2 separate regions of the Homo sapiens genome follow, and region 1 is linked to region 2. Evidence: promoter capture Hi-C in 16 types of primary human blood cells and fetal thymus (Javierre and others, 2016). All regions are on one chromosome and are shown on one strand. The core of a region is centred on a gene start or on the middle of the fragment in contact, and the rest is flanking DNA. Distances in the headings are between cores, read along the strand shown.

What was found. The method cuts DNA at HindIII sites, captures the fragments that hold promoters and counts their contacts. A CHiCAGO score of 5 or more calls a contact.
Region 1: a contact is called between a fragment that was not itself captured here and the fragment with the promoter of ZDHHC22 in region 2, in 1 of 17 cell types (erythroblasts). The highest score is 5.3, in erythroblasts.

Annotation. Positions count from the first base shown.
Region 1 is chr14:77,285,642-77,292,582 of GRCh38, forward strand. POMT2 (protein O-mannosyltransferase 2) reads right to left here. Exons shown (of 21, transcript NM_013382.7): 10 at 5,673-5,739; 11 at 3,121-3,190; 12 at 1,103-1,181. Among named protein-coding and RNA genes, the nearest start is that of NGB, 18 kb to the left of the region's middle. The HindIII fragment of the contact is 2,976 bases long and covers 1-2,738 here.
Region 2 is chr14:77,139,033-77,145,999 of GRCh38, forward strand. ZDHHC22 (zDHHC palmitoyltransferase 22) reads right to left here and starts at 2,759. Exons shown (of 3, transcript NM_174976.2): 1 at 2,571-2,759; 2 at 181-720. The coding sequence starts at 706. RefSeq lists enhancers at 463-1,012, 1,150-1,713, 1,714-2,277, 2,372-2,873. The HindIII fragment of the contact is 23,253 bases long and covers 1-6,967 here.

The sequences.
Region 1 (6,941 bases), core at 1-2,500, 150 kb after region 2:
AAGCCAAGAAAAAAATACAAAGAAAGTGAGGGGACTTTAGAGAAAACGTGTCAGAAAGGGAAATGGCCACCCAGATGCCACCATGTTATGAAGGTCAAAGACCAAATTAGGCTCAATGATAGAGATGGGCAAGGTTACAAGAAGGCCAAAGAAATATCCCAGGTGATTGGCATTGTCCCAAAACTCACTATTACAACCAAAAAACAGTAGTATGACTCCTGGAACCAGAAGTCCAGGAGTCCAACTCTTCACTTCATAGAACTAGAGTTCAAGTTCTAAATACCTGTCTTTGCCCTTCAACCAAACTCAAGACATCACTCTGAGCCAACAGAAACAGATCTGGGCCATTTGCATCCATTACCTTGGCTATCTAGGTATTCACTCATCTAAGCCAGAAAGGTCTGGCCTGGCTATTGCACTTTGGAAATTAAGACATGTATGTCTAATTCTTCTCAGAAGATGCCCACAAAGAAGATTAGAATGTTCACAGTCTTGACCTAGCACAATGTGGAATGAGCAAACAGAAAGAGGGCTGGGAAATCCACCTGAAGGCCAGAATCTGTATACAGTTTTCCACTAGTAGTTTTTGTCTTCAGTTACTCCCAAAGCCATAAGTACTCATAGAGCTTTTATTTATTAGCTGCATCTCCTTGAGGTAGTAAAATACAAAAGCTATGGATAATATCCCTCTGCAGAACAGGGAAATGATACTTAAAAATAAAGCTAATGAGAATTTGGGATCTGGCAAAAGATAAACATACATGTTGTTCATCTGGGGTCATATTGTGGGTCCTTGGCTTCTATGTCCAATGTGATTTTAAAAGAGATCCAAATAGTATTCATATTTGACATTTATTAAGTATCAGAGCATGTAAATGGCATGGTTATTATGTGAGGAGAGAGATGGAGACAAACAGACTTCATAGGCTGCTTTTCCCAGAGCAGGCCTAGCCAAAAAGTGCCCAAATGTTAAGAGAGTCCCTGTGCAGCCTCTTATCCTCAGGAACATTCCAGAATTCTGGGGAGGAGATATCCCACCACACAGCCCTGAGCCAAGGCCCATAACTTTTACGTCCTACTCACATCCCCGTTGCTTACTTACTATGCCATAGCCGGTGACCTGATAGTGCTTCCGGGTCATGGGGGCCTCATGATAGTGACTGTGCAAGTTCCGGGAAGTTCTAGAAGTTAGAAAAGAGAAGTGTCATTATCCTATAGAAAGATGATGTGCAACATTTCTTCTTTTACCAAGGATGTTCAGAGTCAACTGTCAGGATAAGAAAAATTAGAATCTGAACTATTAAATCCAACATATCAGGAACTGGTTTCCTATTTACTCACAAGAAATATCCTGAGAACTGGAGAAGAGATGAGCCCAAACCAGGAGAGACAGATGGTAGGAGCACTGGACGGCATGCCAAGAAAGGGGCTAACTTTAGGTGCTGGCAGGGAGGTGGGGGGCGACTTTCACACATTTAGTAGCTTTGAAGCACTTAGCTTGCCTGACTTAGGAGGCAGGTTTGAGGAGAGGAAAAATTAAAACTTGTAATCTGCATGGCCTGAGCTAGGTAACCTCCTCACTGCCACTTACTCTTTCTGCTCCCATCGCCAGATTTTTTTAAGTGGACATCTGTGGAGGATGAGAGGGGTTTAATTTAGCTTTTATTTAGTTTTATATAACAACTCTCACTTTTATCTGGAACAAATAATAAATGTTCATTATAAAATTTCTGAAAATTTGCAAAAGTAAAATTTAATTACAATAAATTTTTATTAATGACAAATGAAATTTATTTAATAAAATAAAAATTTTAAGTATTCAAAATCCAGCTGACTCAAAAAAAAACCATAGCTAATTGCTTCTCTCTCTGTCTCTGTCTCTCTCTCTCTCTCTCTCTCTCTCTATATATATATATATATACCCACACACATACACACCTCTGATTTTTAAAAATTTGTATCCGATAATTCCAGTCTATGAAATGTTTACGGGGCTGCTCCTGCTGTCTGTCGTTTCAGCTTGTTCTTGCACACAGTGCCCTATTTCCTTGTGTGCTTTGTTACTTTTGGGTGTGTACTATTGTCACTAAAAAACTATGGGAACAAATGACAACGACTTTCCCCAAAGAGGGCTTACATTTGCTTTTAGCCATGCACCTAGGAGACACGACCAATCTAGGATCATGTTCATTTAAATTCATGTCTTGGAGATTCTGAGATCACCCAGGCAACATGAATTTGAGCTCCAAGTTCATGTGAGGATCAAATGGTAGTTCCAACTTCTCAGGAACTAAGGACAGTTCACCACCCAACCCCCAACACTTAGCTGGGTCCTAAAGTGGACCTGGGCATAAGTGGATAGGGCAGATTTACCCTTACCCCAAGCCTTTGGGGGTTCCAAATATGGGGAAGGATAACTTAATAAATTTACCACTTTGGGTGAGCCTAGGTTTGACTTTAAAACCTCTTCTCTCAAGAGACAGCCAAAAGTCAAGATTGTGGGATCAAAGCAAAAGTGGCTTCAGTGTCTCACTTATTTCTCTGGATTCCTCATTTCACTTAGGCTTTGGCCTGGTAACTCTTTAATATCTTGTCAGCCTTTTTATGCTCTTAAGAAGTCTTTATATTATTCCAGCATTTTTAGTCATTTTCAGTGAGAACACTGGTTAAATAAGCTAGCTTGCCATATTCTCAGAAACAGACTCCTACGTCTTTCTAAAGGCAGCCACTTAAGAAGAAGCTTTGGGAGCTGGGTGTGATGGCTCATGCCTGTAATAGCAACCATTTGGGAGGCTGAAGCGGGAGGATCGCTTGAGCCCAGGACTCTGAGGCCAGCCTGGGTAACATAGTGAGACTCTGTCTCAAAAAAAAACAGCAGCAGCAGCTTTCAGCAACTCAAATTTTCCTCTAGGAAATGGGAAATTGAAAGGTCCCCAGAAGGCAGGCAAAGGCTGGCCTGCAATTTCATCACCTTCATAAAATGCTTCTCCCATTCTCGCACTGTGGCCTTGCTCCATTGACCAGAGCCTCATCAAAATCTAACTTCTGTTTACTTCTTAAAATAACTCCCTCCCCTTGGTGCCCGTACCATTTATTTATCCAAACTGCAAATTGACTTACTCTTTGTGTTCTAGTCGAATAATGTCTCCATGTCTTACAAACTCCACTGGGAAGGAAGGGTCTAGGGGATCTGCCAAAAAGAAACAAGCATTGATATCCAAAATCACTCACCAGGCTAGTATTAATCAAGGGCCTACTGGTAAACAGTTATAGTACCATGTGGTATCTGCTAGAGGTACTAACCAGGTACTCTGAGACCAAAGAGGAAAGACCCCTAAATTGCTTCAGGGTATTAGAGAAGGGTGTCCCAGAGATAATGCTCGAAAAGACTCTTAAGGGAAAGGGAGAATTTTGTCAGGTGAACAAGCAGGAGAAAGGCACTAGAAGTGTGAAAGAAGAAAACTTCTGGCCGGGCACAGTGGCTCACGCCTGTAATCCTAGCCCTTTGGGAGACCGAGGCGGGCAGAACACCTGAGGCCAGGAATTCGAGACAAGCCTGGCCAACATGGTGAAACCCCATCTCTACTAAAAATACAAATAATAGCCGGGCGTGGTGGTGCACGCCTGTAGTCCCAGCTACTCGAGAGGCTGAGGCAGGAGAATCGCTTGAACCCGGGAGGCGGAGGTTGCAGTAAGCCGAGATTGCGCCACTGCATTCCAGCCTGGGTGACAGAGCAAGACTCTGTCTCCAAAAAAAAAGAAGAAGAAAAACTCCTTCGATGAATAGCAAATGGGTTTCATACTGTAAGGGTGGGTGGGGTGGGGGAGAGTGGGAACAGATGAGGCTATGAACGAGTGTGGCCAGACTGCATATTCCAGGCTGGAATGTGGCCTTTACCCGATGAGGCACTGAAGCCCCCACTGGAGCTTAAGCTGGGAAGCTAAATAGTAAGACTTTAGTAGTAATAACAGCCTTCTAAAAAGTAATTCCATACAAATGACCACTTGCCCAACTCTCCTCAAAATCAAATAAACCCTGACAATCTTGCCAGCGAGTATCTTGTCTCTGGCAATAAACTTGCTAAATGTGAGGTGAATAATGATGAAATGATTAAAGGACTACTTCTGTATCATCTCAAAATCAAGACCAATCAGGATCTAGAAAGGTGATGACATGGAAAAGGAGCTGGCAGTAATCATAGCAACACAGAATGGATCCTTGCAAATTTCTGTCCCAAACAGTGAGATACCAACACACTATAAATTGATCAAGGTCAGGAAAGATAAATTTGCCAGTGCAAATCACTGGCTCTCAAGAGAATCAGAGAACTCAACCGCAGAGACACCCATTTCCATGCTGCCTGTTAGGGTCTCTTAAAAGCATTAATTAGCAAGATGACAAATCAACTAAGTCAATAGGGAGGGAGGTTTTATTTCATATGCATTTGGTGGGGAGGGGCATTTATAGCCTTCAAGAACACAAAGACCCTAGTCTATAAAGCTCCCACAAAATCCTTAATCACTTCGATGAAATGCAACCATCTTAACTCAGAAGTCACAATGGAATAACAGACTAGGAATGTTCAAAGACTTGGTTCATGACCACATGACGGAAGTAAAACTGGTCTTCCCTCGTAACTCCTCACTGTGATAGAACACTCACGTTTGGCCTGCTGAATCAATCAATATCCATTATAAAAGTATAGAAACAGACTCTGCCCAATGGTGTCGTAATTTATCCCACTAAGGAGCAGGATGTAGAAAGTGGTTGTATACGCCACGTTTCTAGCCTACACAGCAATAAGAGGAGGTGGATTTAGGTGAGCAGCTGCCCATTTCTCTACAAAGGCCTAGGAGCAGCTGAGCTGGGATAGGCTAAGCCAGGTGGGATTTGCTGAGGAGTCACAGAGATACCTGTGGCACAGGACTGTCAGCAGAGATGACAGGCTCGGAAGGTGAGTGGAAGATGCCCTCTGTTCTCTTAGCTGCAGCAGAGGCACAGCCTGCAGGTAGCTAGCTGTCTGACCAAAGAAAGGAAGATCTGGCTCTAGCTCTTGCTCTGTCATAAAGCCCTGAGAGCCTGATAGGTGTGCTTCAGAGCGCCTTCACCCAGGCCAGTTAGAAGCAGATCAGCAGGCATCGAGTCACATCTCAGGAATTAGCCTAGACAAATTCCAGTCACAGGACTAGTAGCCCCTCAGATCAACTGACTGACTCAGGCCAGGGCTGAGCAGTGGGCAGGATTCTATCTTATCAAGACGACTTAAGCTGCACCACATGCTAGAGTGTGCAATGTTTGGTGTGCTCTATGTAAGAAATGAGAGCAGCAGCCAGGTGCCCTCAGCTGGGGCCACTCACCAGCCCCTAGTGGCATGCTCAAGTAACCTCTACTTAGATTAAATCTGGGCTCCGCTATCTGTCTTCAAAATGACAGCTCTAAGAGCAAGTTCTTACCTGTTTTGCTCAATGCTTATCCCCTATGCCAACAACAGTGCTTGGAACACAGTAGGTGCTTAATAAATAATAATTGAAAGGATAATTGAGATAAGTAAAGGTGTCAAAGATGCTCAGCAAAGCCCATCTCAGGATCATTCTTTTGCAGGCATGAGAAATCTTAAGGAGGGCTCAGAGGGAGTAACAGCACAAGAAGCATCAGTCTCTGACCACATTACCTGAGTTTGTGTTATGTTTCTTGATAATCCACAGGTTGTTGTAGTCCTTGTGCAAATAGGTGGTGACCTGGGTGGGGGGTGGGGGCGGAGGGAAGAGGAAGCAGGAGGGAGAATACCATCACTATCAGCACAGCTGGCCAAGGACAATCAACCTCAAACCAATGTTGCTTAAGCCAATTTCAGAATCCCCAGCCACCAACCTGAGGGGCCATGTTTCCCAATGGGGCTCATATGTAGCACTGGTGAGTGAGATTCTCTCCTTCCTTCTGCATTTAGAAGCTTTGTCCCACAAGAGCCTTTTTGTTTCTTTGTATCTTTCTGCATCTTGTCCTAAAAGTTCCATCCAGCCTTCTAGAGGGAGGAACCATGAGGCCTTATATAACTGACTCCAACACAAAAACAGAATGAGGATTTAAGTGCATTTTCAAAGTAATTAAGGCCGGGTGTGGTGGCTCATGCCTGTAATCCCAGCACTTTGGGAAGCCAGAGTGGGCGGATCACCTGAGGTCAGGAGTTTGAGATCAGCCTGGCCAACACGGTGAAACCCCGTCTTTACTAAAAATACAAAAATTAGCCGGGCATGGTACGCGCCTGTAATCCCAACTACTCAGGAGGCTAAGGCAGGAGAATCGCTTGAACCTAGGAGGCAGAGGTTGCAGTGAGCTGAGATCGCGCCACTGCACTACAGCCTGGGCAACAGAGCAAGACTCTATCTTGGGAAAAAAAAAAGTAATTAAGATCATGCCTCAAACTTTCTAAATGAAAAATTCATGCTATTATATTTTCTATAATGTGGCCAAATGAAACGAAAAAGCTCCACAGATATCCTGTCCTAGAATTTAACTCACGTTTTATACAAAAAATCTGGAAACAGTATGACTGTCTAGTAATAGAAAAATAGTTAACATGATAGTATGTCCTGGGATAGAATATTATACAGCCATAAAAAATGTTTCAGAGCATTTTTTTAGCAACATGGGAAAAGGCTCATGAAATGCTGATGCTGAAAATGGCTACCATTTATTACCAGGCACTGTTCTAAGCATTGGGCAAGTCTTATCTCATTTAACCATTATTACAGCTCTATGCCATAGGTACTATGGTTATCCCCACATTACTTACAAGGAAACTGAAGTTAAGTAATTTGCTCAAGGTCACACAGCTTATGCGTTGGGGAGACAGAATTCAAACCAGGGCCGCAAAATAAATGCTCCCAGGATAGAGACTATATACGTCCAATTATGCCAATTATGTAGACAAGTAGAGAAC
Region 2 (6,967 bases), core at 1,509-4,008:
CTGGGACATAATTATACTAAAAAATTATGAGTTGTTTATCTGAAATTTTAATTTAGCGGGACGGTCTGTATTTTTATTTGCTAAATCTGGCAACTTTTGGGGTTGGGGTTTGGGGCCCGGCAACCTTTGGGGTGGGAGGTCTTTGTGTAGAGCCCAACCTGCCCGCCAAGGCCCACTCACCGGAGAAGAACTGGCTGATGGAGGTGGGCAGGAGCGTGAGGAAGGCCAAGGGGTGGGCGAAGGAGATGGAAAGGACAGCGGAGATGTAGGCCACGCCGGCCACCATGGAGTAGAGGCAGGCCAGGGAGGTGTAGAGGCAGAACAGGACGAAGTTGCGCATGTTCCTGCTGCCGATGCAGTTGCCGGTGAAGAAACAGTGATGGTCGTGCCTCAGGGTGACTCTGGCGCACACTCGGCAGAAGTGGGTGCTAGGTGAGGGGCATGGAGTCTTCCTGGCCGAGGCCCCCTGGCAGGCCCCCAGGTCGTCTGGGGAGTTCTGGATGACAAGGACGTAATTGCCCAGGGCGTTGGCCGAGAGGAATAGGAAGAGCGCCCCGTGGAGCAGGGCGGGCGAGAAGAGCCGGGCGGCCGCGGGGTCCTCGCGCATGCTGGGCAGGAAGAGGAAGAGCTGCAGCACGAAGGTCACCAGGGAGATGCACAAGAAGTAGGCGGGGGCCACCACGTTGAGCAGCCGCAGGGCCAGCATCCTCGATTACATTCCTGCGGGGCCCGGGGTGAGAAGAGGACTGACTGACTACGGCGTCCAGGGGGCGCCCTCGCCCGCTCCTCCGTGCCGCGCGTCTGGGGCACTGCACGCGACTCCACGCCCCCAACCCCCTGTCCCGCGGATTTCCCCTCCCCAGTTCCCTAACCCCGGATCAGGCAGGCCAGAGACCCGAGCCCGCAGCGGCCTCGGGTCTAGGCCCCACCTGGGGGTGAGTGTTGCCTGGGGTTTTGAGCGAGCTCGGCGCCTTGGCGCGGCAGAGTCTGGCACAGGAGGGAGGGACTCGTTTGCAGTCTTTAGGAGTTGTGAGGGTGGGGGGCACCGGGGGATAGGACTCCTCCCCTCTGTGGATGTGGAAACAAGCCCAGGTTTGGGATTTCTGGTTCAGACCTCCCTAGGAGGAGAAAGGGAAGGATTTGGGGTCGGGGGCAGGAGAATCAGCGGCACTTGACCTGCTGGAAATCCTGCTTCACACTCCCCTTTCTCCGTCCCTGCGTCCCCACCCACACACACATCTTGGGCAGCACTCAGGGACCTCACCAGGTTACCCAAGGCTCTTTGGAGGTATGTGTGCGTGAGGGACCACGATGTGTGTGTGTGTGTCCTTGTCTGTGACTCTGTACGTGTAATCTGTGTGCGCTTGAGTATCTGTATTTGTGTATGTATATATCTGCGTGTACAGACACGCAGCCTCTGCTATCTAGCTTTAAAAAAATCAATTGAAACAATCGATACACTCACACTCGCTCTCGGGCACCGGGTGAGGTGGGGGCGCAACCAGAATACCTGTGTCAGCGGGTCCTGGCCAGCACATCTCTCCAACGCTGGCTGCCCGGGCTATTTCTTTGCGAAGAGCGTTTTCATTTGAGGCGAAATTAAAATCCCCCCTTCGCGCCCGCCTCCCGCCCTCCTGCTGAGAGAAACCCAAACAACCCTCATGGCGCCGAAATCCTTTCCATGCCGACAAGCCCGCCCTGGGCGCACGAGTGGATGCTTGGCCAGCCTTTCCTGGGATCGACCCCGCCGCCGTGCTCAGCCCTCACCACGTCCCCATCCCACCCCACGCCTCACAGCCGGGGTTCCTGGCCAGCTTCGGAAGCCACCGAGAAATAGGATTCCGTGCGCCCGAGAGAACTTTTCCAGGGGCTAAGGAATCGGCCAGCCGGAGGCGCGAGAAAAGTTCTGGGAAGGCGGTTGCACCTAGGATGGGTGGATGCCACGGGGCCTCCGTCCAGGCTGTCCCGTCCGCACGGGTCGACTGGTCACCTTGGAATCCCCTTTGCAGGTCCCAGCGCCCCCCGGGAACCCGCAGCCTCCGCGGAGAGCGTGGGCCTCTCCCTACCGCTGGGGCGCAGCGCAGTGCACGCCTGAGGGTGGTCGCCGGGGGCTGGGCACGCCCCCAGTCCTGCGCCGCCGGGGGCTGCGGCGGTGCTGCCCACCCCAGAGAGCCCTCGGCCTGGGGCTCCGGCGAAGCAAGTGCCTTCCCGGCGCCGGTCGCCAGGGGGGCGCGGGAGCAGCCAGATGCGCCGCAGCGCTGGGAAGGCGGCGAAGGACAGGGGCTAGGGGAGTGAGGGGCGCTCGGCAGGCAGCCTCAGCCCTGGCCCTGCGCGGGAGAAGGGACAGCAGAGACCGCCCGTGGGGCCCCGGGGTGTAGGGAGCTGTCCGTTCAGCCCTGGCGCCCGCCTCGCCCGCGGCAGAGGGCGGCACAGCCGGAGCCTTGGAAAGACCGGCAGCGCCGGCAGCCGCGGGCTTCTCGGCCACTGCCTCCCGGACGCACGGGAAGCCGCCCCCCGCGCCGCCGCCGCCGCACTGCCGCCGTCGCAGAGGGGTGAGGAAATCAACTCACCGAGCTCTGGTCGCCGACAAGAGGAGCCCCGGACGCCGGCTCTCGCCCTGCCCGAGGCTGCAAAGTTGTGGACTCGGCCCGGCTGGCTCGCAGCCTGCGCTTCGCTTCGGGAACTGGGCAAGTAGCGGGGATGTGGGGAGGAGGGAGCGGGCAGCTGCTGGCTTCCCACTTGGGCGCCAGCGAGTAAGGGCCAGGAAGCGGCGGGGATGGCAGCTGGGCACCCCCCAGCCCCGCCACCCCTCCCTCCGCTCCTGGGGGCGGTGCTCTGGCCGCCAGTCTCAGCATCGTGGACTTGCCCCCTCCTCCCCTCTCGATTCCCCTTGAGCGGGCTGGGGCGCCCTGCCTGGTTTCAGCGCCCGTTCCAGCTGGGAGATTGGGATTCAGCCCTGATGTGGATTCTCCAGCCATCATCCTGCCCTTCCCTCTCGGCTAGGTCCCACGACCTTCCCTGCTCTCCACTCGGACTGAAGGAACCCTGGGGGCTTGAGAGGTCAGCTTGCCAGGGCAACACCCATGAAGATCAGCGTCATCTCCTCGGAAGGGCTGTGTACAGAGGGTTGGGAGTTGGGACTCTGGAGCCTGTCTACCTGGGTTTGAATATTCACCATTCACTACTGTGAGATCTCAGATTCCAGTTTCTTCGTCTGTAAATTCCAGTGTGATCTTAGATTCCAGTTTCCTCATCTGTGAAATAGAGATATGAGGGTTAAATGACAATCTATGTAAAACCCTTAAACAGGGCCTGCCCAGGGCAAGCACTGCTTGATTAGATCATAATTAGACACTACTTATCGGGCCCCTACTAGGTAGCAGGCATTGTGCTAAGCCTTTAGCATAAGATGCTTCCTTAATCCTCTCAGCCTGATCTGTGAAGCTGGCTGAGCCCCATTCTGGAGATGAGGAGGTTGAAGCTCAGAGAAGCTAAGTCTCATGTCTAAGGTCATACAGCCATTAAGTGACAGAGCCTGGACTTGAACCTGGTTCTAGCATTAATGCTCCTGCACTCAGCCTCTACACAGCCCAGCATCACCCTGGGACCCACGGGCAGCTCTGATTTGAGAGAAGGAAAGACAATGGGAGTTTATCCAGACACAGAGCTTGAACTTGGAGCTTCTTCTTTGAGCCTCACCCCCACCTTCTTATTTCTATTTCCTTCCCCTTCCAGGGCTCCGCTATTCTAAGGTGGGTACTGTGATGCGCCAAGAGGGTAGTGACACCAATGTGTATCAAACAGTGGGGGGTGGGGGGAGCAGAGCCTTAAAAACATCAAACACTGCAGGAATATTGGTGCCATCACCATCCTCAATTTCCTGGGTGTCGCAGCTCACCTACCTGCCCTGTTCCTCTCCTCTCGGTGATGGCATACTTAATAAATAAACATTTATTGCTTTCTCAACTGGCTGATTAAAACAAGAGCAATCCCTTGAAATGAGGGCCATATGCTGATCAGCTCAGCCTCTATTCTTGAATAACCACACACTGTTTCCTCTGTAATTTATCAGCATACATCAAAATAAAAAAGAGGCCAGGAAACCTTTTCACATTCTAAAAGGATCTGACATGTAAGTGAAAGAACAGTATATGCCACATGGTGGCCGTGAGCAGCTGGTAGCCTTGTGAGTTCCAGTGGCCACAGGACAGACATGGGGAGGCACACATGGCCCTTTTCCCTTCAGAGCAGCTTTGTCTCATAATCGTGGCCGTCTGGGCCCCTTTTCACAAGCTCTGTCTGCCTCTCACATGGGCTTGGCAGGGAGGGAGGCTGGCTGGGGTGCTTGGGTTTGGGTATACTGACTGAAGATCTCCATTCCCCAAATACCTTGTGAGTCGGGTGGTATTTCTAATTTTATTTTGCATATGGGTGTGAGGTGGGAAGGTGTGTGTCTGAATCTGTGTGTATGAGGAAAGGGAAAGAGAGAAAGAAGCTAAGCGAACGTGGGAAGATGTTAGTGGGGGAAGGGAGTATTCAGTCAGGAAAAGGAGATCTGGTCGTGGAAACACAAATGGACAAGGACGATTATTTATTTAGAAATATCGTTTATCAACAGAAAAGGACATTACAGCTTCAGATCTAAAGCTAGTGGTTCCTCAGCTCCCCTTAAGGAATGGAGTGAAGGGAAGCACGGCAAATGTCATTTTGTTTTTCTAAAACTTATGCTTATCCCTGACAAAATCAATAGGGAGGCAAAATCAATATGAAAACTTCACTTGGATTCTGGCCCTATGAGAGTCAAGCAGACTAAGAATGAGCATTTTATTGCCATTTACCAGCTGTGTGACCATGAGCTGCTAGTCATTTAACCTCTCTGCTCTCAGTATTCTCATCGGTAAAATGGGAATAAGAATGCTGCTGTTATTTGTGGTGATGATGATCAAATGGGATCATGTAATTTAAGCACCTTAGCGTCTCCCACATCTTTAGGGCTCCTCTTTTCAACCACAGGACTCTCTTCACTTTCCAACTAAAATGAGAGCTCCTTGCCTATGTTGGAAATGTTTTGGGGTTTCTTCCATATTTCCTAATAGGATGATTTGCCCAGAGTTGACACTGAGTAAAAGTCTCTTGATCGATGAATTGCTACTGGTCTGTCTGTGAAAGGAAGAGCTATATTCTGAGGTCTTTGAAATGTCTGGTGAGGGCCAGATGCATTGGCTCACACCTGTAATCCCAGCACTTTGGGAGGCTGAGGCAGGCAGATCACCTGAGGTCAGGAGTCCGAAACCATCCTGGCCAACATGGGGAAACCCCGTCCCTACTAAAAATATAAAAATTAGCCAGGCGTGGTGGCCAGTGCCTGTAATCCCAGCTACTCAAGAGGCTGAGACAGGAGAATCGCTTGAACCCAGGAGGCAGAGGTTGCTGTGACCCAAGACCATGCCATTGCACTCCAGCCTGGGTGACAGATCAAGACTCTGTCTCAAAGAGAAATATCTGCTGAGGACACATTTGCCATTGATCTTGCAACCTGCCACCACCCACCCTGACTCTAATCTCATCCTCCATAAACAGTGACAGAAATGATTTATAAACCACACTCTCCATTGCTCTTGCTGTAGATTCCTATAGTTAAGCCATAACTGTACCTGCAGGCAGTCCCATGGGGACAGGGGCACAGATAAGCATCTCATTGCTGTCCAGCCCTTTCCTGGAGATATGCGCCCTCAATCTTGCTATTTGGTGGTGTTATTTGAATAAAATGAATTCCCTTTCAAGTGGAAATTATTCCACTTTGCTTCAGAGTGTTGTATTACAAGGAGAGAAATCCATGTAGCAAGCAGCTTCTGCCTTGAGTGAGTAACCCCGCCTCCATGTCTGTCAGGCCTATAATGCCCCAAATGTTTTGGATGGAGACTATTCCAAGATGCAAGGAGCTGCACCTAAGAAGGCTGGTGGTGGTTTTCTTTCATTCTTATGCTCTTATTTCAGATAGATCAAGGTGAAGATAGGCTTGGGTCAGGATGCTCTTTAGCGCTGACAGCAGATCATAGCCAGGGATAACCACAGAGTGTTTCCCAAGCCTGGGAAGGCTTACAAAGATGCCATCCCTGCCTGCCCAGATTTGGAAAACATGCAAGTGTAATCTTCATTTTAGCCAACTAAATACATGAAAATTGGATTATCACAGAGTTTCTATTTGGAGGTGGTAATTTACTTTGCTAACTATGTCTTCATTTTAACAACGATAACATTACTTTGATGTAATAAAGTGCTTTGCAGGCTACAAAGTCATCCACAAAATTAAAATTTCATCCCATGAATCTCTCTCAACAGCACAAACTAGCTGGGGTGAGAATTATCAAACCCATTTTCCTTATGGGGAAACTGAGGTTCAGAGATTTGCTGCATGTTAATTTGCAAGGCTTGACTATGTTTGATTTGAAATATGATTTAATATGCAAAACATATCTCATCGATATTTAACTTTTCTGGAACATGTCAGTTGCATAAAGGAAGCAGGTATGTAACATACTCCCCCAGAGTAACAGACCTGAAGGATCTCCCTTTACCTAAAACTGCTGTGCTCTGCACTCTGCATCCTGTCTACTCTGCTTTGTCTTCAACAACTTTTATCACCACTTGACAGGTATATATTTGTCTGTTTACTGTCTGTCTCTCCCCACTGAATTCTCAACTCCGTGAGAGTAGGATTTGAACTGCTTTATTCACTGCTATATCCCAAGTGCCTATAACAGTGTCTGGCACATAGTAGTAGGTGCTCAGTAAACATTGGTTGAATGAATAAATATAATATGCATAAACTTGTAAGCCTGCAGCACATTAATCAAATGCCCTCAGGCACTCTGCTGTTTGTCGTGCTGGAGGGGGTGTGTGTGATTAGGGGCAGGTATGCTCAGCCTCCAAGCTCACATGTCAAGGTAGAAACTACAGGTCTGGG